Regions from separate parts of the Homo sapiens genome. Here all the other regions are linked to region 3. The links are contacts of gene promoters, found by promoter capture Hi-C in blood cells and fetal thymus (Javierre and others, 2016). All regions are on one chromosome and are shown on one strand. The core of a region is centred on a gene start or on the middle of the fragment in contact, and the rest is flanking DNA. Distances in the headings are between cores, read along the strand shown.

Region 1 (3,546 bases), core at 1,011-3,510, 5.8 Mb before region 3:
ACTTGTCTAGTTTGGTGTCTTGAAGGGCTTTCTCTATAGGGTCCAGGTGTCACAGAACAGGTCAGCATTCAGTTCTTCAAATAGGGCATGTGTAAGAGGTATAGACATTGATTCATTCATAGAGAAAATGGATCTCAATACTAGCCTGGCTGCTCAAGAAAGAGTGTACTTAGCATGTTCACAAGCAGTATGGGGATGTCAGACAGCTCTCTTATTCTCACTGATGTCCTTTGTATGCTTGTACTTGAACTCAGCAATAAAATGGTGGACCACTTGGTTGTCAGTGTTTTCCACCTAAGTGGGTGTCTCCTGCTGTAGATTTCACCTCAAAGATTCCATCCTCAACAGTGAGGACTGACACATTAAAAGTGCCACTTCCAGGTCAAGCGCAATGGCTCACGCCTGTAATCCTAGCACTTTGGGAGGCTGAGGCAGGCGGATCACCTGAGGTCAAGAGTTCAAGACCAGCCTGGCCAACATGGAAAAACCCCGTCTCTACTAAAAATACGAAAATTAGCTGGGCATGGTGGTGCATGCCTGTAATCCCAGCTACTCGGGAGGCTGAGGCACAAGAATCGCTTGAACCCGGGAGGCAGAGGTTGCAGTGAGCCAAGATTGCGCCACTGCACTCCAGCATGAGCAACAAGAGTGAGACTCCATCAAAAAAAAAAAAAAAAGGCCAGGAACAGTGGCTCACACCTGTAATCCCAGCACTTTGGGAGGCTGAGGGGGGGCAGATCACCTGAAGTCAGGTGTTTGAGACCAGCCTGGCCAACATGGTGAAACCACGTCTCTACTAAAAATACAAAAAAAATTACCCAGGCGTGGTGGTGGGCACCTGTAATCCTAACTACTCAGGAGGCTGAGGCAGGAGAATCACTTGAACCTGGGAGGCAGAGATTGCAGTGAGCCGAGATCGCACCACTCCAGCCTGGGTGACAGAGCGAGAATCCATCTCAAGAAAATAAATAAATAAAAATTTAAAAGTACCACTTCTAAGGTCAAAGATCAGCACATTTCATTGAGCTCCAACCTTTTGCCTAAGGCATAAGCAATAGAAGCAGCAGTTAGCTCATTGATAATTCTCAGTACATTGAGATAAGCAATAGTTCCAGCATCTTTGGTAGCTTTGATGCTGAGAATCATTAAACCAAGCTGATATTGTGACCACAGCATTGGTAACACTCTTTCCAAGGTAGGCTTCTGCCATTTCCTTCATCTTTGTCAGAATAACAGAGCAGCTGTCCCCAACCTTTTTGGCACCAGGGACCAGTTTCATGGAAGACAATTTTTCCACAGACCAAGTTGCAGGGGGTAGGATCGGGGGAAGATAGTTTTAGGACAATTCAAGCACATTACATTTATTGTGCACTTTATATTATTATTACATTGTAATATATAATGAAATAATTATATAACTCACCATAATGTACAATCAGTAGGAGCCCTGAACTTGTTTTCCTGCCACTAGACGGTCCCATCTGGAGGTGATGGAAGAGAGTGACAGATCATCAGGCATTAGATTGTCATAAGAAGTGCTAGATCCCTTGTGTGTGCAATTCACAATAGAGTTCACACTCCTATGAGAATCTAATGCTGCCACTGATCTGACAGGAGGGGGAGCTCAGGTGGTAATGTGAATGATGGGGAGCAGCTGTAAATACAGATGAAGCTTCACTGACTTGCTGCCACTCACCTCCTGCTGGGCAGCCAGTTCCTAACAGGCCACAGTCCAGTACCAGTCCATGGCCCTAGAGGACACCTTTCTGGACAGAAGTTTTTTTTATCTCTCCCTTGTATTCTACTTGGACCTTGGGCCTGCCAACATTATTCACTACCATGAAGGGCCAATGCTTCATATCAGACTGGACAACAGCATAATCAAGTCTGTGTCCAATCAGCAATCAGATTTGGCATCAAAAACTGTGTTCATGGGGTTCATTGCAACTTGATTCTTTGTGGCATCACTGAGCAATTGTTCAGTATCAGTAAAGGTGACATAGCTTGGAGTGATTCAATTTCCCTGATCATTGGCAATTACCTCTATTTTTACATGCTGGAAAACACCCACACAAGAGTAGATGGTGCCAAGATGAATACCAACTGCAGGTCCTTTAAACAGGGTTGTTTGCATGTAGGCCGGATTGGATTCTGAAGAAAGACATAGGAACCCCAAAAGTGGCCACAGCATTCAATAAATCCCCATAAATTCTTCAAATGACTTTGCAGTATGTAAATCCAGGTAAGGGCTCATTCAATTCATTCATTCATTCTACAAACAGGTATTGAGTCCCTCCCTATTTTGTGTCAGTGTTGGGAATACAGTTAGCCCTCTGTATTCCATCGAAAGTATTTGAGTTAAAAAATGAAAAAAACACAAAATAATACAAATTAAAAAAATACAACTATTTACATATCATTTACATTGTATTACTTATTGTAAGTAATCTGAAGATGATTTAAAGCATACAGAATAGCCTACATGCAAATACTACACCATTTTACATGAGACTAGAGCATCTGCAAATTTTGGTACCCATATGGTGGGGGAATAAGGGAGTGTCCAAGAACCAATCACAAGCAGATGGACTGACTGTATAACCCAACCCCTATCTCATGGAGCTTATATTCTAGTAGGGATAGATAACCATTAAGTGGAACGATGCGTAATATCATATCAAATGGTGCTAAGTGTTATGAAGACAATGCATAATATCATATCAAACAGTGCTGTTATGAAGACAACAGACTACTTCGATATGTAACAAAGCATTTAGAATTAGTGGGCTTAGAAGTCCCTTAGGTAGATGACATTTGAGCTGAAGCCTGAATGATGCCCTCCAAAGACACAAGCTTTTGAAACATGACTAGCTTAAGTTTTCACAGCCTTTTATTCACTGACTTGCTACTACGCCAATGTTAGAGTTACCGTTGGTTTGTCTCCAGGAAAAATTTTGAATTGTCTCCAGACAGTTCCAGTTAAAAGTAAATGTAACCATTCATTATCATCTATGCAAAGATTCATTCTTTAGCTACACAAGGGAGGACAGATTTCCTGGAAGAGAAGGAAAAGGTTATGGGATCCTGTGAATGGTAGAGAGACACCTGCCACTGGGAATTTGTTATTGAGTATTTAGAGATTTGAGGGCAGTATAAGCATCAAAGACAGTGTTTAAGTCTTCATGATTATTTATCCATTTTGTACCTTCCTTAACAAGTTCTATCAACTGGTAGGACTCCACATTTGACACTAAAATATATACAATTATCAGTCCTCCTCAGTTATCTGGGGCTATGAAAAAGAAAACATAGGCATATTGCAAGTGGCAATAAAACAACAGAGCTTTACTGTGTCATTTCAATTTCTCTAAAACTACTACCGGATCTTTAGAAATGCCAGCCACCAGGGCAGCACTCTTCCAGGCAAACATTATGACTAAACTGTAAAATATTGTGAAAAGTATTCATGAAGGAGGTGAAGACAAAATCACTAAACAGGAACGAGTGAAGAAGCAACATACTGGAACGATGAAATAGGGAGTTTTT
Region 2 (3,577 bases), core at 183-2,682, 5.8 Mb after region 3:
ACGTAAGTAATAAAGTTCAGCAATAATTTTTTTGTTTGTTTGTTTGTTTTAGATGGAGTTTCTCTCTGTTGCCCGGGCTGGATTGCAGTGGCGCGATCTCAGCTCACTGCAAGCTCCACCTCTTGGGTTCATGTCATTCTCCTGCCTCAGCCTTCTGAGTAGCTGGGACTACAGGCGCCCGCGACCATGCCCGGCTAATTTTTTGTGTTTTTAGCAGAGACGAGGTTTCACCGTGTTAGCCAGGATGGTCTCGAACTCCTGACCTCGTGATGCACCCTCCTCGGCCTCCCAAAGTGCTGGGATTACAGGCGTGAGCCACCACGCCCGGCATTTCAGCAATAATTTGGCTAACCAGGTGTCTTATTCACCTGACGGGGTTGCCTGTTCTTTTATAGCGGGAGGTGCCTCTAGGAAAGAGAAAGGGAAGGTATTTTTCTTTTCACTTGAGATTTAAAAAAATTATCTCAAGGCTGAACCCTTGAGGTGGAGTCATCCTTGACTAGAGTAACTTTGACAACTTTGTTTTAAGGTACTAATTGTCCAGAGATTTAATTTTTCTACAGAAACCAAAAATACAAGAAAGTGGGTGGGAGAGAAGAGAGAGACATCGTCTTTAAGGAGACAAATGATAATCAGATAAATGCAAAATGACTGGTTTTAAACTATGGCTTTTTGTCAACTATTAAAGTATTGTATATTAAAATTGGCATAAAGAAGGCATTGGTTGCTTGATACTTCTTGAAAGCAGGAAAGAGAATACTGGAACTGGAGGTCTGAGCTGAGGAATTTAGGAAAACCCTGGGCATGGACTGTTTGCTGTATTGATATATTTGTAGAGATTGTCAATCCTGGTTTTGAGGTATTTTGTTGTTTATTTGTGTAGATGTAGCAATTTTGCATATATTGCATTTCTGTCATAGTTAATTCTTTGTTGAAGAAAAATTTAAATCTAGGACTGTCTTTCTTCAAACTCTGTTTAGTCAGCCAGTATTTCTACAGAATTCAAACTTAATATTTAAACCAAGTGTCTTAGGGTGGGTATACGTACTGTATCCCATCTTCACAAAATCCCATGTGTACCTGCCAGAGAGTAATATAAATGGCTCAAATTAGGCTCTATTTGGATGATGGTCCAACTGAGTGATTTAAGCTATTTTTAACGCCTCTAGTGTATTTCTTGTAGAATTCCTCAAATGGAGATTCTTTTCTGAGATATATTGACTGTTAAGAAAAATTCCAGGCTGGCTGGGTGTGGTGGCTCACGCCTGTAACCCCAGCACTTTGGGTTACACGAGGGTGGATCATGAGGTCAGGAGTTCAAGACTAGCCTGGCCAACATGGTGAAACCCTGTCTCTACTAAACTACAAAAATTAGCTGGGCATGGTGGTAGGCACCTGTAATCCCAGCTGCTCGAGAGGCTGGGGCAGGAGAATTGTTTGAGCCCGGGTGGCAGAGGTTGCAGTGAGCCGAGATTGCGCCACTGCACTCCAGACTGGGCAACAGAGTGAGACTCCATCTCACAAAAAAAAAAAAAAAAAGAGAAAGAAATAAATTCCAGGCCTACTTCTCTCAGAAATCACAATTGATCATCTGTGTCTTACGTGAGAGGTCTAGGTACAGGTTTTATTAATACAAAACAAACTAAATTTTACTTAGGACTGTTTATTTGGCTAACTAGGCCAGAGCCATTTTGAAGATTTTAACACCTGTGCATGTAAAAACACTCAAGGAGACTTAAGTTATTTGTTCTTTGCCAAAGTTGGTAAGGTACTGTTATGATTATTTAAATTTTGGTGCTCATTTTTCCTCTAATGAATATAATAATAACTTACTACTATTATTGTAGGGAGGCAAAAGATTCTTTAAGGCAAGAACATTTTTCTAATCTTTCTAGAATATCCTACACAGTATTAGGAACATAGTGAGTGCACAGTGAATATTAAGACAGATCCTTTATCTTTAATGGTAACCACATTTTATGTTTTGGTCATAATAGTAATAGTACAGTAAGTCTCTGTTGTGCAATACTTTGAAATTTTGGATTTGACTGTGATGTCAGTAAGATCACATGTGCAGTGAACATCATAATCCCAGTTTCAATACACATGTCATATTATTCTTTATAGAAGAAGGGAAGAGTTGATGAAGAAAAGGGATAATGCTTATGGAAGAAATGGTATATGTGAGCATCATGACAGCCATCAACAATTGGGAGATGAATGGCTGGATGGATAACTTAGGAAGAACTTTGAGGAAGATTTTAGTTTCTTGAGTATTTCTTCCAAGTACAAGTAACTCTTACAGAGGTCTGTCTCCAGTGTTAACTCACTAGTTAGGGAACATTGAATAAGAGAAGACAGACCAGTTAATATACAAAAACCATATGAGTTATGAAAGTTTTATTATTTTTCAAATGAGAAATGAAAAAAGACAGATGACAGCAATAGAAGTAAAATTCACAAGATGCCATTTTAATTGAACTTGAGAAATATATTCTGATACGAAGGAATAGTAAGAATTGAAATTATCATTGCATACATAGGCATTAGTTAGAATATACTAAATTCATGCACATGATGAATTTGGGTGGGGTTGGATTAATGATTCATTTGGTTTCATGGCTCTTGATTTAACTTTATGATTATAGTTAATTAATATGCAAATTAAGCAACACTTTAGGAAACCATCACAGCTCTGACTGATCTCATTTAAACTTTCCCATAAGAGGTTAAAGGATACTAAATAAAAATACTCATTAGGGATAAAATAAGTTGCTTGTCTTCATTAAAGTGTCTTTGCAATGGAAATAGCTTTGTTCTTGTCTAATTACTGGAGAGGATCATTGAATATTGTAGATATTGTGGGTTAAATAAACCAGATAAAGTCTTTATTTTCTTTTATTATGCATTGAATCCTGACAAAATGGTCAGCTCTTTAGTTATAGAATCATTCCATGTAATAATGGCAGTATTCCTGTGAATCCTAAAACAGTATGCTGTAATGATCTCACAAGATGTTTTTGCTTTTAAAAATGTGTGCTGTTTTAAAAACAAATCTTTGTCCATCAGTGTGCCTTTAAAAAAATCTATTACAGTGAGCAGGGTTTGTTGAAGACATTGACACTTAAAGCATTTGCACGGGGCGCGGTGGCTTATGCCTATAATCCCAGCACTTGGGAGGCCGAGATAGGCGGATCATGAGGTCAAGAGTTCCAGACTAGCCAGTTTGAGACCAGCCTGGCCAACATGATGAAACCCTATCTCTACTAGAAATACAAAAATTAGACGGGCTGAGGCAGGAGAATTGCTTAAACCCAGGAGGCAGAGGTTGCAGTGAGCCGAGATTGCACCACCGCACTCCAGCCTGGGTGACAGAGCAAGACTCTGTCTCAGGGAGCGGGGGGGGAACATTGCATATGCTCTTAATTTTTAAAATTTAATAACCTTGTTCCATATAAGTTTAATTGCAATCCCAAGATGATTTTTACTCTAGACCATCGCTAAAGAAGGCTTTTATTTTAATATGCTAAGCAGCTTTATGGCATTTGAAGGAACAGGATAATGAAACTGTGAAGTA
Region 3 (3,506 bases), core at 849-3,348:
TTTACGAGGTAGCACAGACCTCATTGTCCCTTTTGTGTTATAATAATTCCACTATAGCACCTGTTTCAACAGTTTGCACTTACTTGTTTCTATGGGTGTCTCCCTTTACTAGACCATAAACTTCTTGAAAGCAAGAGCCATACCTCTACTCATTTTTGCATTCAAACTTCAAGCATTGATAGGAAGAAAATGAGTGGTTGTTGAAAATAGCAAAAGCACAGAGATGAGAAAAGTTAGGGTCAATCAAGACATGTATAGTGAGAAAATCAGTTTGCTGGGTGGCAAGCTCATTTAATAGAGAATGGGAGCCATAATTGGAAAGATAGTTTTGAATCAGATTACAAAGAATTTAAGGCAAACCTAGGAAGTCTTAATAGGAGGGTAGGATAAGCAGAGCCCATTTGAAGATTTTGGTGCAAGAAGACACGATGGAATTGTAGCAGGAAATATGGTACCAAATATGTAAAGCCATTAAATATCATAAAATTTCCCACCCTTTTCCAGATCAAAGAAAAGGTGATAAGAGGTAGATACAAAAATGATGGTCTTTTTATTTTTCTGAAAGATTTTGTCACCTCTTAGCCAAGACGATTTTGTGATATTACAAAAGAAATAGCACATTAAAACTGTATGTTTCTTATGAGTTCAGCTTCAGAGAAAATATTGTAGGTATTTTCACACTATTATTTTAAAGACAGCAATGAAAAGAGATCAAGTTTAGGTACTTACTCATCAAGTGTTACTTTATAACCACATGTGTTTGTTTTAATTCTTCAAGAAACTCTACTTTGTCACTGAATGAGGATCAACTAGAGGTGACTGGTTAGGCCTGGGACGAAGGTCAAACTGAGCTTTGCTGAATTATTTTAAACAAAATAGATTTCCAAACTCATTTAAATCCAGGACCAACCTGGAAAGCTAAGCTTGACTCACATTCTTCTGTAGGGGTAGGAAAGAATGCAGAGCACTCTACTTGGAAACAATGGCTTCAAGAGGCATTGCCCAGAAAAAACCATAAATATGACTAGAAGGTCCAGATGAAGATTCTATGCTCAACCATTTTTCTAAAGAAGAGCAAGGACAAAACTCACGCCTGGGATAGCATGTGAAAAACAGATGTTCGATGAATACCATCTTGTCGACTTCTTGCTTTTTTACATTTTCATGTTATATTTTCCCTTTATCGGTTTGCAGTCAGCTCTAAGCAAACAGTTAATGAATTTTTCACACTTAGAAACAAATGTCTCCATTGTGACAATGGAGACAATTTTTGAGCACTGTCTCAAATCTGGTGATAATTTTTTTTTAAGTGAAAGGAAGTTTATTAGGAAAGTAAAGGAACAAAGAATGACTACTCCATAGGCAGAACAGCCTGGTGACAACTTTTAAAAAGTAAAAACTTTATTACAAAAACATTTGTTTATTGTAGAAAAGCTTTATTAAATAAAGCTAAGCAAAAATAAGGAGGGAAAGATCACAATCAGTATACATCTTGCAGACCTTTAAAGAATTATTTTTGAAAAAACGGATATATACTGTTTTGTAACTATGTCTCCTAACAAATAGTCGCAACATCTCATTAATAAATATTCACCTGCAGAATTATTTTAAACGGCTGCATGGCATTTGGATGTACCACAAGATACACAACAAATTTCCTGATGTTGGCCATTTTGGTTAATTCCACTTTACTCACAATTACTAATAACGTTGCGAGCTATAGCAATAACTTTGAAACTGCAGAGAATTTCCTTAATTCTTTCTTACAATTCCAGTAGAATACGATGGTGTCCCTTCTCCGACAAAAGGGAATATTTGGGCATTATCACTGCCAAAGAAAAATGCCTTTTTGATGGGTGAAAATGCTACCTCATCGCGTTATTGGCAGGTCCTCGATTATCGGCGAGTCACTGAGGTTCCGAGAGGGGCGTCTCTGCTCACGCAAACAGCTACCCAGCCGCCTCCCACGGTCTGACCTCAGCCAAGGTGACGCGGCTTAAAGTCAACCGGCGGAAAGAGAGTCGAACGGGACGCGTGCGTGGGAAAGCGCATGAGCGTACGTGCGAGCGCGCATGAGCGTACGTGCGTGTGCGCGTGCGCTCGAGAGCGTCATCGCCCCCGACTGTGGAGAAGTGTCCGGGGTAGCCCCGTTACAGGTATCGCTGGCTACCCTCCTCCTTCGCCCCTCCTTTCCTCCTTTACATTCAAATCAAGTCGGGGTTGAATTTCGAGAGGGGAGTCCGAGGACCTGGGGCCTGATTTCTTTTTCTCTCGCCATGCTTCTTCGGGCTGTGTACATGTGTGGTGGTGCCTGAGAGGCGATACAGGGAATGGCTACACTCTTTTACTCCCGCCCCTGGCCTTCGTAGTACCCTTGAAGTGATCCACTAGTCGTAACCCCTCCTTCCACCAATGATTCAATTGGAGAAGTTTAGAGGAGTGGAAAGACTTGTCCCCTTCCCCCATCGCAAGCTTGGTCACAGAGTGTATTGCCAACCCATGTATCCAGACGCTCAGTCTAGGGCTCTTGGCCCTGGGTAGCGTTTTGAAAAGGCTGGTTATCCTTAAGTACTGAAGATTGATAAAGCCCACTTACTTACTTAAAAGAATATGCCCTGAAATGTGTTTTCTGTGCCACTGACACCAGAAATGCTATTTAGAAGAAGTTATCAGTAATCCTGACAAAGGATGCTTCCTGCAGCTCAAATCAGGCTGGAGGTGCCTTTATATTTTTCATTGAATTACTGTTTTGGTGACTCGAATGAATCATCAATTCATTTATTTGTCTTCAAATGTCTGACGGCACTTAAGGTCTAAAAAAGAAGGTAAGTTTAAACAGATAGTTTGATGTTAAGGTATAAATTGAAAGTATGTAACATTTTCCCTGTGTTCATTAGCAGCTCATATCAAGCACCCAAAGGAACACCTTGGATGTTTTTCCTTAGGCCCTTAAGCTATTTAAAAGAATACCTCCTAGGTGTGTTGTGGTCTTTTACAGGAATGTGTTTCTGATCATCTGAATCTTAATCATGTCCAACTGCCTGCAAAATTTCCTGAAAATTACAAGCACTCGTCTTCTATGTTCAAGATTATGCCAACAGTTAAGAAGTAAAAGGAAGTTTTTCGGAACTGTGCCAATATCCAGATTGCATAGGCGAGTTGTCATTACAGGCATTGGCTTAGTGACTCCTCTTGGTGTTGGAACTCACCTGGTTTGGGATCGTCTTATCGGAGGAGAGAGTGGAATTGTTTCACTGGTTGGTGAAGAGTATAAGAGTATCCCTTGCAGTGTTGCTGCTTATGTGCCAAGAGGTAGTGATGAAGGTCAGTTCAATGAACAAAACTTTGTGTCCAAATCAGATATCAAGTCCATGTCTTCTCCCACCATCATGGCCATTGGGGCTGCAGAATTAGCCATGAAGGATTCTGGCTGGCATCCTCAGTCAGAAGCTGATCAAGTGGCTACTGGTGTTGCAATTGGCATGGGAATGATTCCTCTTGAAGTT
Region 4 (3,317 bases), core at 557-3,056, 6.9 Mb after region 3:
GGAATATAAAATTATTTCCTGACCTTGTCCGGAATGTTTCCCGCAAGAAATTCATATTCTTTGTGGCATCCAGGTTTTATTGGAAAGAACTTAAGTGACAGGATTTAAAAGTGATGGAACTTAAAATTTTTACAGTGAATTTAATTTAAAATTAAAGAAAAACTCAGTGTGCTGTGGATTTTAGTAGGTTCTGGTCACAATAACTGACAAATGAACTTCACTTGGAAATTAAGCCAATTCTATTTTAGGTACAGAGGAATAAAAATCATTAGAGGATCTCTTCAATAATCTAAGAAGAAAAACAACAGAACAAAGGCCTTGAGAGGGTATAAGGAATGTGCTGTGAAATTTTGGATAGGTTGTTCAGGGAAGGCCTCTGGTGAGATGATATTTGAGCAGAGATATGTAAGAAGTGAGGGAATGAGCCATAAGAAATGAGGAAAGGTGGATGAGGGAGAGACTATTAGACAGGAAAACGGCATGGCCTGTCCAAGGCTGGACCAGGGGACCAACATCTTCCTCCTTATTTTAGAATAGTGTCTGTGTTCCCCACATTTACCATTCCTACTTGCTCATACCATTGCGCTTGCCCGAAATCACCCTTTTAGACCTAAAGCCCATCCAGTTTTCAAATCCTCAGTCATAAAGCCTTCTACTTGTTCATTTATTCATTCGCAAAGATTGAGTGTTGAATAATGGATATGACACACTCCCTGCCTTTGAAGACCTGCTGTTCAGTCTGTTGGAGGAGACAGGCATATCCTAGCTGCACTCCTGTTTGGTAAGAGCTGTGTAATGTGTGTAGTTGAAGAATAAGGTCCACAGTGATTAGGGGACTGTTTTTTTCATTGGTTTAAGTTTATAGGCCATATTGAAGGAAACTTCCTGCTTTGATATAAGGTTAAATTTGAATAAAATAGATGAGTGTTTAGTGTAGCTCCTTTGAATCTCTGCTCATCTCCATCTCATCTGCTGTGTTTCTGGCCTTTATCTTTTAATATGATCTATGTCGCATTGAGTAGTCTTCTCACTGGTGTTTGTCTCTTGTCTCTTCCTATCCCATCCATTTTCCTCACTGTCGCCCCCCGCTTTTTTTATGTCCTAAGACATTCATTGAATCCTGTCATTCCCCTTCCTATAAAGTTTCTAAGACTGTACATGCTTTGGGCATCAAGTCATCATTCTTTTTATTTAATTTTTATTGTATTTTCTTTCTCCTTTTAAGTCCTCACGGTTTTTTTTTTTTGTTTTTTTTTTTTTTTTTGAGACGGAGTCTCGCTCTGTCACCCAGGCTGGAGTGCAGTGGTGCGATATCGGCTCATTGCAAGCTCCGCCTCCCGGGTTCACGCCATTCTCCTGCCTCAGCCACCCGAGTAGCTGGGACTACAGGCGCCCGCCACCACGCCCTGCTAATTTTTTTGTATTTTTTAGTAGAGACAGGGTTTCACCATGTTAGCCAGGATGGTCTCCATTTCCTGACCTTGTGATCCGCCTGCCTCGCCCTCCCAAAGTGCTGGGATTACAGGCGTGAGCCACCGCGCCCTGCCGTCCTCACTCTAATGTGGTTTGTGAGCATCTTCAAAATCTATTTCCAGCTGGATTTCTGTATCAACCCACCCAGCTCTTCACATCATAAATTACTGTTGCAAAGCATTGTGTTTTTTGAGCTTTTGAGCCGTAGTGTCCTTTCTCTTCTCCGTCTGGTGAACACTATTCATTCAGTCTATCTTACATGCTGCTTCCTCTCTGAGCTCACGAGGTCAGGATATTTGTCACGGAGGGTCTTGTGTGTGTGTTCTTCATCAGGTAAGAAAAAAGGGTCATGAAAGGACTTAAGGTGAGTGATCTGATCACACTGACTGTTGTAGGTGGTGGATTTAAATGAAGTAAGACAGGAAGCCTAGAGACCACCTAAGATGAGTTAATGTTGTGATATTAATTTATTCAGTAAATATTCACCAATGGCCTGTTTTGCCAGGTACTACTTTAGGAACTGGGCAGGAACAAAACAAAGTCTCTGTTCTGGAGCTTATTTACTATGAAGGACAGATAAGCATGTAAATAAAATGAAAAATAAGATGATTTCAAGTTGTGATAGATACTCTGAAGAAGGCCAAGTGCAGTGGCTCACACCTGTAATCCCAGCATTTTGGGAGGCTGAGGGGGGTGGATCACCTGAGGTCAGGAGTTCAAAACCAGCCTGACCAACATGGTGAAACCCCATCTACTAAAAATACAAAAATTAGCCAGGCATGCTGGCGCACACCTGTAATCCCAGCTAGCTGGGAGGCTGAGGCAGGAGAATTGCTTGAACCTGGGAGGCAGAGGTTGCAGCAACCCGAGATCGCACCACTGCACTCCAGGCTGGGTGACAGAGTGAGATTCCATCTCAAAAAAAAAAATAATACTCAGAAGAAAAAAATGAGTAAGAGAGGCTGTCTGCAGTTGCTCACACCTGTAATCCTAGCACTTTGGGTGGCTGAAGTGGGAGGATTGCCTGAGGCCAGGAGTTTGAGACCAGCCTGGGCAGCATAAGTGAAACCCTGACTCTAAAAAATAAAAAGCCAGATATCATGGTGTGTGCCTATAGTCTCAGCTCCTAGGGAGGCTGAGGTGGGAGGATTGCTTGTACCTAGGAGTTCAAGGCTGCAGTGAGCTTTGATCACGCCACTGTCCAGGCAACAGGATGAGACCCTCTCTCAAAAAAATAAAATAAAAGGCCGGACGTGGTGGCTCACGCCTGTAATCCCAGCACTTTGGGAGGCCGAGGTGGCAGATCACGAGGTCAAGAGATCGAGACCATCCTGGCTAACACAGTGATACCCCGTCTCTACTAAAAATACAAAAAAATTAGCAGGGCCTGCTGGCGGGTGCCTGTGGCTCCCACCTGTAATCCCAGGACTTTGGGAGGCCGAGGTGAGTGGATCACCTGAGGACAGGAGTTTGAGACCAGGCTGGCCAACATGTTGAAACCCTGTCTTGACTAAAAATACAAAAATTAGCTGGTCGTGGTGGCAGACGCCTGTATTCCCAGCTACTCGGGAGGCTGAAGCAAGAGAATCACTTGAACCCAGGTGGCAGAGGTTGCAGTGAGCCAAGATCGTGCCATTGCCCTCCAGCCTGGGCAACAAGAGCAAAACACCATCTCAAAAAAAAAAAAAAAGAAAAAGAAAAAAAAGAATAGAGGATGACTGAAAGCCTTGTTTTTCAGATAGATTAGAGAAGGGCTTTCTTAGAGTTGACATTTAGACAGAAACCCTAAGGATAAAGAGCCAGCTGTGTTGGGAAGAATGATCCAGGTAAGAGGAGCAACAAAT
Region 5 (3,221 bases), core at 136-2,635, 7.6 Mb after region 3:
ATTACAGGCATGCGCCACCGCACCCAGCCTTAAACACAAATAAGTTTTTAAACTCAGTCCCTCTGAGGTTCAAAAAGAACTCAAAAAATGACACTAAGACATCAATACAACTAGGAAAACTTGCTCCAATTTCTACTGACAAAGTGAAGACTATACCAAATTTGATTTTTATTTTCTTTACAGCATTACATAGTGGCAAATATTCTTCATCAAGAATGACCATTTCGGCTGGGAGTGGTGGTTCACACCTGTAATCCCAGCACTTTGAGAGGCCAAGGTGGGTGGATCACTTGAAGCCAGGAGTTCGAGCCTGACCAACATGGTAAAACCCCATCCCTACTAAGAATACAAAAATTAGCCACACATGGTGGCATGTGCCCATAGTCCTAGGTACTCCAGAGGCTGAGGCAGGAGAATCCCTTGAGCCTGGGTGGCAGAGGTTGCAGTGAGCAAGACTGCATCGTTGCACTCCAGCCTAAGAGACAGAGTGAGACCCTGTCTCAAAAAATAAATAAATAATAAAATTAAAAAGAAAAAGAAAAGCAAGTCTAGTGAGCTGAAGATACTTTGCTAGTCTGGATCTTTGTTTGTCTTATTACTTTAAATTAGCAAGCTTCTATTATTCAGTAGACAAAGAGGTAGGGTGAAAGATACTCAGAAATGTCTCAGTCTGGTCCAATCCTTGTCCAAATCTAGAAAAAGCTATGAATCCTCTCATTAGAAAAATATACCTTTAAGGACTACATCCCAGCTACTCAGAAGGCCTGAGGCAGGAGGACTGCTTGAGCCCAGGAGTACAAAAACAGCCTGGGCAACATAGCAAGATCCTGTCTCTAAAAACAAACAAATAAAAGGAAAAGAAAAGAAGGGAGGAGGGAGGAAAGAAGAAAAAAAGGCCAGGTTCAGTGGTTCACGCCTATAATCCCAGCACTTTGGGAGGCCAAGGCAGGAAGATCGTTTGAGCCCAGGAGTCGGAGATTAGCGTGGGCAATGAATAGTGAGATCCGCCATCTCTACGAAAATTTTTTTTAAAAATTTGCCAGGCATGGTGTCCTGTGCCTGTAGTCCCAGCTACTCAGGAGGCTAGGGTGGGTGGATCACTTTAGCCTGGGAGGTCAAGGCTGCAATAAGTCATGATTGTACCACTACACTCCAGTCTGGGTGACAGAGCAAGACCAAAAAGAGAGGGAGAAAGAAGGGAGAGGGGGAGGGAGAGGAGGAGGGGGGGAGAAAGGGGGAGAAGAGAAAGGGAGCAGAAAAAGAAAAGGAAGGGAAGGAAGAAAATATACATTTATAGAAAATTAAAAACTTGTTTAAGGATTCATGGAAAATTTTGGGTTTAAAACTTTTTGTCAAGATGATAAATGCTAAGATACAGTCTGTGCAAAGCACAACACACTATATTATATATGATACTCATATAGGTATTATTTTGAAAGTTATAATTTCTTTTAAAAGGGTACATAAAAGTACAGTTCCTTTAAAATTACTCAAAAAAAAGTTTGTTTTTTTTTTTTTTGAGACAGAGTCTCGCTCTGTCACCCAGGCTGGAGTGCAGTGGTGTGATCTTGGCTCACTGCAACCTCTGCCTCGGGTTCAAGTGATTCTCCTGCCTTGGCCTCCTGAGTAGCTGGGACTACAGGTGTGTGCCACCATGCCTGGCTAATTTTTGTATTTCTAGTAGAGACGGGGTTTCACCATGTTGGCCAGGATGCTCTTGATCTCCTGACCTCATGGATCCGCCCACCTTGGCCTCCCAAAGTGCTAGGATTACAGGCGTGAGCCATCGTGCCCGGCCCATATTTTTTAAAATTACTAAAATGTATGTTGTTTTAAACATGTCTACATATACAGTTCAGCTTTCTACCTTTTTTCTGAAAAGACTAGAAAAAATCAAGAAATAAATGAACACAATTCCAGAACCAAGAAAATACTCAACATTAATACTGCAGTAAGCAGAATAAAGGACAAGAAAATCACCTGCCCTTACATTGATTATATTCAAGTGAGGTATCACCTGAGAAAGAGGCACAAGGGAGCCTGCTGGAGTACTGGAAAAGATGGAAATAGGTAGTAGTTTCAAGGGAATATATATGTAAAAATTCATTAAGATTTGTGCACATTACTGTAATACTTCAAAAAAATTTTGTTAAAACCTAAGCTTTCCAAATGGACACTGAGCAAGGTAATTAACTGCTCTAAGTTTAATCTATAAATGAATAAATCTCTCCTAGAGTTACTGTGAGAACTGAATAAGGTTAACACATGTATTTAGTACAATGCTAGATGCACAGTATCAATTAATGTCAGTCTACTATATCACTACTACAGATGGTGGATTATGACTTTTATCGATATGAAATATCTTTATCTGGTTTAAGAACAACCATGATAAATTATGGGCATTCCCCCAGGCCAATAAATGCACATCCTACATGTTGCTTTAAACAGGGTGTATATGTGTACTAATTCATTCCATGGTATGTATGTAACAGAACTTAATCGACTATTCCACAAGTAAGGAAAATTCAGGTTATTTCCTTTTTTATCTTTAGAAATAAAGTTACAGTGAATATCCTTGCCCCTACATTGTTTCTTCTGTTATTTTTATGTCTACAACAGATTACCAAATAAGTTATTAAGGTTCTTTCAAATATAAAACTTAACTCTCAAATAAGTGATTGCCTATCCAAACACTAAATATAAAAACAAACAGGGAATTGTCACAAGTGCCAGAGACAGGACTACCTGAAGGTAAAACCTTATAGATTCTAAACTTATATATCAAATGAAAAGGTAGAAATAAGTTATTCTTCCACATTTCAGATTAATCACATGTAAAAGTCTAAAATCTATTGCTCTTTCCAAAACTTCGAGTAAAAATTCTATTTAATGACAGAAAAATAAACACTATATACTCAAGTGAACAGATGTATAATTCTAATTTTTTGAAAGAAAATGTATATACATTCAAGAAACAGACCAAAAATATTAGTCAATTTTTGGCATTATCCCTTCACATATTTCCCAGTTTTTCTACAATGAGCATATAACAGTAAAAATGTTCAAAAAATTGTTTAAAATCAGAATTCAACCTGCTTTCAGTATATGTATCCAACAAATTAATTCCTGCATTCAAAATACTTTTGTTTACAGGGGTAAGTCACATCAGCCTGTGCCCAAACTGCAAAGGGCAAACTCTCCTCTTTCCAAAGATAAAC
Region 6 (3,173 bases), core at 74-2,573, 6.3 Mb after region 3:
AATCATTTAAGAGCAGGGACCTCTCTTAAAGGCCTGTGGATCTCCCAAGCATGGAAATAACAGAAAATCTTGAGTTCCTTCAAGGGAAATTCCAGGCACCTTCCCAGCCTTTAGAAGTAAATGAGCAAATTAATAAGCAAGAAGGTAATAGTAGCTTAAAACAATAGCCAAGGCCGGGCACAGTGGCTCACGCCTGTAATCCCAGCACTCTGGGAGGCTGAGGCAGGCAGATCACTTGAGCTCAGGAGTTCGAGACCAGCCTGGGCAACATGGCAAAATCCCGTCTCTACAAAAAATACAAAAATTAGCATTGTGACATGTACCTGTAGTCCCAACTACTTGAGAGGCTGAGGGAGAGGATCACTTGAGCTGGGAGGCAGAGGTTGCAGTGAGCTGAGATTGTGCCACTGCACTCCAGCCTGGATGACAGAGCAAGACTCTACCTCAAAATAAAAAAAAAAAATCAAAAATAAAAAGCCAAGGAAGTTAGAGTCAGAAGATGGTCCCTATAGAAACTAATGATGCATCTTAACTATGTCCCTGAGTTGTTTTTTAAAAACCCAGACCCTCACGAAATGTATCCACTGGCATATAGACCTCAGATAAGGAGGAACTGAGGATTGAACTCTGACCACTGTTCTTCAACGTCTTTCAGAGGGGCCTGAAAGTCATGTCTGCAAATCAGAACTAACATTCTTTTTTTTTCTTTTATTTTTTCTTTTTGGAGACAGTGTATCACTCTGTTGCCCAGGCTGGAGTGCAGTGGCACAATCATGGCTCACTGCAACCTCCACCTTCCAGGCCCAAGCAATCCTCCCACCTCAGTCTCCCAAGTAGCTAGAACCACAGGTCTGTGCCAGCATGGTCAGCTAATTTTTAAATTATTTTTGTAGAGATGGGGTCTCCCTATACTGCCCAGGCTGAGAACTAACGTTCTTTTCTACTGACCCCAAATTTTTAGACAAAGCTTTGTCTAAAGTTCCTTAACCAATTGCAAAAAAGAAAATCTCTGATTCACCTATGACCTGTGGGTCCCCCTCCCCCACTTTGAGATGTCCTGCTTTTTTAGGTCAAACCAATGTGTAGCTCCATGTATTGATTTATGACTTTGCCTGTAACCTCTGCCCCACGCACCTTTATTTTACTTTTTATTTTTGAGACAGGGTCTTGCTCTTTCATTCAGGCTGGAGTGCAGTGGCACAATTACAGTTCACTGCAACCTCGACCTCCTAGGCTCAAGTAATCCCCTCATCTCAGCCTATTCCGACTAGCTGGGACACCCAGCTAATTTTAATTTTTTGTAGAGACACGGTATGTGTTATCCAGCCTGGTCTTGAACTCCTGAGCTCAAGCAATCTTCCCACCCCGGCCTCCCAAAGTGTTGAGATTACAGGTGTGAGCCACCGCGCCTGGCCCCCAGCTGCCTTTAAAAACCCTTACTTGCCAGCCATCAAGGAGGAGCTACCTGATTCTCCTTGCTTGGTACCCTACAGATAAACACCCTTCTTTCTCCCTCTGCAAACCTTGGTGTGGGTATTTGGCCTTACTGTGTCAGGTGAAGGGACCCTAGTTCAGTTAGATAACATAAATATTTGCAGTGTATGTGTACTACCCAAGGACATGACTTCATTATTCAATTTGACAAATGCGTTCTGTTACACAAATACAGAAAGGATTAATAAAGCTTTACTAGTCCATCTTTCCCATTATCCCTGCATGTATCCTTGCATTAGTGCAAATAATTGAGAACAAACCATTGGTGAGGGGATGGAAAGACTGCTCTGACTCACCAGCTCCCTTTAAGTATTTCCTTAAGTAAATATCATAAGTAACACAAATAAATATTTCATACAATGTAGAGAAAAAAGCAAAAATAACAGTTCTCTGAGCATCAAACTAATAGGCTTAGTATTACTATCATTTTTTTGAAACGGAGTGTCGCTCTTGTCGCCCAGGCAAGATCTCGGCTCACTGCAACCTCCGCCTCCCAGGTTCAAGAGATTCTCCTGTCTCAGCCTCCTGAGTAGCTGGGATTACAGGCATCTGCCACCATGCCTGGCTAATTTTTTGTATTTTCAGTAGAGACGGGGTTTTGCCAAGTTGGGCAGACTAGTCTCCATCTCCTGACCTCAGGTGAACTGCCTGCCTCGACCTCCTGAAGTGCTGGGGTTATAGGCGTGAGCCACGGCACCCGGCCTAGGCTTAGTTTTTTGTAGGTACTAGAGTATTTGTTTCTTTAGCCAGAATCCACTGATATTTTAGTCTTCTGGTTCTCAATCTTGGCTTGCTTTTGCAACTACCTCTTGAACTTTAAAAAATTCTGCTCCAGCCTGGGCAACAGAAGGAGACTGTCTCAAAAAATATATGTCAATAAGTAAATATCCTGATGCCTGGATCCCACCATGGGACATTCTGATGTAACTGGCCTGCAATGGTGTCTGGGCATGGGGATTTTTAAAAGCCCCAGTGACTAATATGCAGCAGAGTTTGAGAACCACTGGTTTAAAGGACTTTGTCCTACTCTGACAGCGTCTAGCACAGTGCCTGGCAGAGACTGATGCTCAGAATGAACAAACTAAGATTCTATTTGTCAAGGAGGAGAGCATTGTGTTACTCACAAATGCAAACAAACCACAAGCAAGGGATAAGTCAGGCCCTGGGCAAAGACAATGGTAAAGCAATTCCTGCCAAGTAAGCGTGTGAGGGTGACACCCACTGAATGCAAGCTGTTGTTACCTTTTTCCCTTTATTTTTATGTATTTATTTTTTGTTGAGACAGGGTCTCACTGTCCTTCAGTCTGGAGTGCAGTGGCCCTATCCTGGCTCACTGAAGCCTCGACCTCCTGGGCACATGCAATTCTCCCGCCTCAGCCTCCTGAGTAGCTAGGACTATAGGTGCGTGCCACCATGCTTGGCTAATTTTTTAAATTTTTGTACAGAGGGGTGGGGGGTCCTAATTATGTTGCTCAGGCTGGTCTCGAACTCCTGGGCTCAAGTGATCTTCCTGACTCGGCCTCCAAAAGTGCTGGGATTACAGGTGTGAGCCACTGCACCAGGTCAAGTTTCTATCTTGACTCTAACTAGAAAAGGTGTCATCCTTGAAATGCAGGTACTGTTCAGCCAAATTCCAAAGTCCTCTGAAGATCCAAGTTCTCTAAGAAGTTCAGAGGTGC
Region 7 (3,346 bases), core at 2-2,501, 7.7 Mb after region 3:
ATAGAAGTATCAAGCAGCGCTAAATAGTAATGTCATAAAGAGACCAAAATATAAAAGAAGGATAGTGTTAAAAGAAAACTTTAGACAAATTAAATATAAGAGTTTAATTTTGCAAAAAAAAGATTTGTCAATCAGGTAGCCACCCCGAACCAGAATATGTTCAGAGAGACTCCAACACTGTTGCATGGTGGAAGAAGATTTATGGACAGAAAAAGGACAGTGATGTACGGAAAACAGAAGTGAGATATAAAAACAGCTTGATTGGTTGAGTGTATTATTTGAACAGTTGGCCTCCTGTAATTAGCCAAAACTCAGCGATTGTTATAATAGGTTATAGACCATTTATACATCCAGTTAGGTTACAATTTACTGTGTACAGAGAAACCTTTAGGCTGAACTTATAAGGAGGCAACTTTAGGCTAAACTCAATTTAACAATTTCTCCCCTTTTGTTCAACCTCTCAACTTGACCAAAATAGAGAGGTTGACCAAAATCCTAGACATTGACATTACTTTCTGACCATTGTAAATGTACTTATCTGGTCGCAAATCCCATTGGGAAATAGTACAACAGTGGGTTTTGTAAGGTGCGAATAAGGACTTTAGGTTATTTTCTGGTAAGCGTTAGAGTAGAGGATACTTTTTTTTTATTATGTTGGAATTTTTATTTATTTAAATTTTATGGACATTTTATGGATGATTGTATGTAAACATTTAAAACTTTTGAAAGTCCTTAGTGCACATAGGAGACTACTATTAAGATTACCAAGAGGATAATACCAAGACTTTGGAGTATGCCCCTTAGCCAGGGTCAACATGAACTAAACTAACTAAAATCAAATAGATCAAAGAAAGAGCTAGATAAAAGATCAAGCTGTTTTAACCAAGCAGCTTGTTTATTAATCCCCTGTAACTGAATCTCTATAATACCTGATATGTTCATCTCTGTGCAACAAGAAGTGTGAGCAACTGCAGATACTTCTCTGTATCTGCATACAGAGATACATACTTCTCTGTATGCAGATACAGAGAAGTATCTGCATACAGAGATACATACTTCTCTGTATCTCAGTAAGTAATATACAGCAATTCCGTTATCTAGCACAACTTTAGCAAGAGAACTTAAAGTCTGTTGTGCCATGGCCTTTGCAGTAGAGTCAGCTATAGAGTCTACTATGAGGGATAAATTTCCTTTTTCTTTCTTTTTTTTTTTTTTACTTGTTGAGACGGAGTCTTGCTCTGTCACCCAGGCTGGAGTGCAGTGGAGCGATCTCGGCTCACTGCAAGCTCCACCTACCGGGTTCATGCCTTTCTCCTGCCTCAACCTCCCGAGTAGCTGGGACTACAGGTGCCCGCCAGCACACCCAGCTAATTTTTTTCTGTTTTTAGTAGAGACGGGGTTTCACCATGTTAGCCAGGATGGTCTCGATCTTCTGACCTTGTGATCCGCCCACCTCAGCCTCCCAAAGTGCTGGGATTACAGGCGTGAGCCATCATGCCCGGCCTTTTTTTTTTTTGAGATGGAGTTTTGCTCTTGTTGCCCAAGCTGGAGTGCAATGGTGTAATCTTGGCTCACTGCAACCTCTGCCTTCCAGGTTCAAGTGATTCTCCTGCCTCAGCCTCCTGAGTTTTTGGGATTACAGGCACCCGCCACCATGCCCAGCTAATTTTTTGTATATTTTTTTTCAGTAGAGATGGGGTTTCACCATGTTGGCCAGGCTGGTCTTGAACTCCTGACCTCAGGAGATCCACCCACCTCGGCCTCCCAAAGTGCTGGGATTACAGGTGTGAGCCACCGCGCCCGGCCATGAGGGATAAATTTCTTTTTTTTTCCTTTTTTTTTTTTTGAGAGAGTCTCACTCTGTTGCCAGGCGGGAGTGCAGTGGCACAATCTCGGCTCACTGCAACCTCCACCTCCTGGGTTCAAGTGATTCTCCTGCCTCAGCCTCCTGAGTAGCTGGGATTACAGACGTGCACCTCTATGCCCAGGTTTTTTTGTTTTTTTGTGTGTGTGTGTGTTTTTAGTAGAGACAGGGTTTTACCATTTTGGCCAGGCTGGTCTCGAACTCCTAACCATGTGATCCACACGCCTCAGCCTCCCAAAGTGTTGGATTACAGGTGTGAGCCACCATGCCTGGCCATGAGGGATAAATTTCTAATCATTGCTTCATTTATTCTAAATTATGGAAAAAGAGACAATAAATGATGTCTGTATCTACAAGACTGAAGGCCTCCTGGCAATGTTTTTTTTTAAATTTATGATATTGGTTAAGAGGAGTGGACTAAAGTTTTTGACTGATTATGAGGTAATAAAGGTATTAACATCAGTTATCTATATTGGGGTTTTTTAATTGTTTAATTTTTTTTTTTTGAGACAGAGTCTTGCTCTGTTGCCAGGCTGGAGTGCAGTGGTGCGATCTCGGCTCACTGCAACCTCCTCCTCCTGGGTTCAAGTGATGCCCCTGCCTCAGCCTCCTGAGTAGCTGGGACTATAGGTGCCCGCCATCATGCCTGGTTAATTTTTTTGTATTTTAGTAGAGACGGGGTTTCACCATATTGGCCAGAATGGTCTCGACCTCCTAACCTCGTGATCTGCCTGCCTTGGCCTCCCAAAGTGCTGGGATTACAGGCATGAGCCACTGCACCCAGCCTATTTTTTAATTTATTAAGGCACAAGGTTGTTTGTTAGAAGACTGGCTTTGAAATCTTTTATAAATAAAACTATATTCTATGAGTGCATATAAGACTTTTATTTATTTTTATTGTCTATAGAGGCATATGTAAGGAAAAAATTAAGAGGTAAGAGTCTCATGATGGTAGAGAAGTCTTGATTTGTGATCTTGGGAAAGTTGTCCATGTCTAGGATGTTGTCTGTTTTCAGAGAAAGTTTTTTTTTTTTTTTTTTTTTTTTTTTTCTGGTTGGTTTTTTGTTTTTGTTAGTTTTAGGTCTCTAATGGGTATATAGTTTTAAGAGTCTGGGCCAGGCGTGGTGGCTCATGCCTGTAATCCCAGCACTTTGGGAGGCTGATGTGGGTGGATCACCTGAGGTCAGGAGTTCGAGACCAGCCTGACCAACATGGAGAAACCCTGTCACTACTAAAAATACAAAATTAGCCGGATGTGGTGGCACATGCCTGTAATCCCAGCTACTTGGGAGACTGAGGCAGGATAAGTGCTTGAACCCAGGAGGTGGAGGTTGCAGTGAGCTGAGCTCGTGCCATTGTGTAAACGCACCAATCAGCACCCTGTCAAAATGGACCAATCAGTGCCCTATCAAAACAGACCATGCGGCTCTCTGTAAAATGGACCAATCAGCAGGATGTGGGTGGGGCCAGATAAGAGAAGAA

Evidence for each region. The method cuts DNA at HindIII sites, captures the fragments that hold promoters and counts their contacts. A CHiCAGO score of 5 or more calls a contact.
Region 1: a contact is called between a fragment that was not itself captured here and the fragment with the promoter of OXSM in region 3, in 6 of 17 cell types (non-activated CD4 T cells, activated CD4 T cells, total CD8 T cells and 3 more). The highest score is 9.8, in non-activated CD4 T cells.
Region 2: a fragment that was not itself captured here is called in contact with the fragment with the promoter of OXSM in region 3 in 1 of 17 cell types (activated CD4 T cells); the score reaches 6.9 in activated CD4 T cells.
Region 4: a fragment that was not itself captured here is called in contact with the fragment with the promoter of OXSM in region 3 in 2 of 17 cell types (fetal thymus and total CD8 T cells); the score reaches 10.1 in fetal thymus.
Region 5: a contact is called between a fragment that was not itself captured here and the fragment with the promoter of OXSM in region 3, in 1 of 17 cell types (activated CD4 T cells). The highest score is 10.4, in activated CD4 T cells.
Region 6: a fragment that was not itself captured here is called in contact with the fragment with the promoter of OXSM in region 3 in 2 of 17 cell types (activated CD4 T cells and monocytes); the score reaches 6.6 in activated CD4 T cells.
Region 7: a contact is called between a fragment that was not itself captured here and the fragment with the promoter of OXSM in region 3, in 3 of 17 cell types (activated CD4 T cells, total B cells and total CD8 T cells). The highest score is 7.6, in activated CD4 T cells.

Annotation. Positions count from the first base shown.
Region 1 is chr3:19,941,195-19,944,740 of GRCh38, forward strand. It overlaps a transcript of EFHB not described here and the pseudogene HSPA8P18. Among named protein-coding and RNA genes, the nearest start is that of RAB5A, 4.1 kb to the right of the region's middle. The HindIII fragment of the contact is 1,181 bases long and covers 1,671-2,851 here.
Region 2 is chr3:31,541,546-31,545,122 of GRCh38, forward strand. All of the region lies in intron 1 of STT3B (STT3 oligosaccharyltransferase complex catalytic subunit B), which reads left to right. Among named protein-coding and RNA genes, the nearest start is that of STT3B, 10 kb to the left of the region's middle. The HindIII fragment of the contact is 5,509 bases long and covers 1-3,577 here.
Region 3 is chr3:25,787,992-25,791,497 of GRCh38, forward strand. OXSM (3-oxoacyl-ACP synthase, mitochondrial) reads left to right here and starts at 2,099. Exons shown (of 3, transcript NM_017897.3): 1 at 2,099-2,156; 2 at 2,999-3,506. The coding sequence starts at 3,030. It also overlaps a transcript of NGLY1 not described here. RefSeq lists enhancers at 1,578-2,107, 2,247-2,316, 2,327-2,396 and a silencer at 1,925-2,144. The HindIII fragment of the contact is 1,038 bases long and covers 1,433-2,470 here.
Region 4 is chr3:32,686,206-32,689,522 of GRCh38, forward strand. All of the region lies in intron 1 of CNOT10 (CCR4-NOT transcription complex subunit 10), which reads left to right. Among named protein-coding and RNA genes, the nearest start is that of CNOT10, 2.7 kb to the left of the region's middle. The HindIII fragment of the contact is 4,533 bases long and covers 1-3,317 here.
Region 5 is chr3:33,421,541-33,424,761 of GRCh38, forward strand. All of the region lies in intron 2 of UBP1 (upstream binding protein 1), which reads right to left. It also overlaps a transcript of FBXL2 not described here. Among named protein-coding and RNA genes, the nearest start is that of UBP1, 17 kb to the right of the region's middle. The HindIII fragment of the contact is 1,548 bases long and covers 612-2,159 here.
Region 6 is chr3:32,102,935-32,106,107 of GRCh38, forward strand. No RefSeq gene overlaps it. Among named protein-coding and RNA genes, the nearest start is that of GPD1L, 2.1 kb to the right of the region's middle. The HindIII fragment of the contact is 717 bases long and covers 966-1,682 here.
Region 7 is chr3:33,443,240-33,446,585 of GRCh38, forward strand. It overlaps LOC124909363 (a long non-coding RNA gene), which reads left to right and starts at 3,314. Exons shown (of 2, transcript XR_007095862.1): 1 at 3,314-3,346. RefSeq lists an enhancer at 3,264-3,346. The HindIII fragment of the contact is 4,305 bases long and covers 1-3,346 here.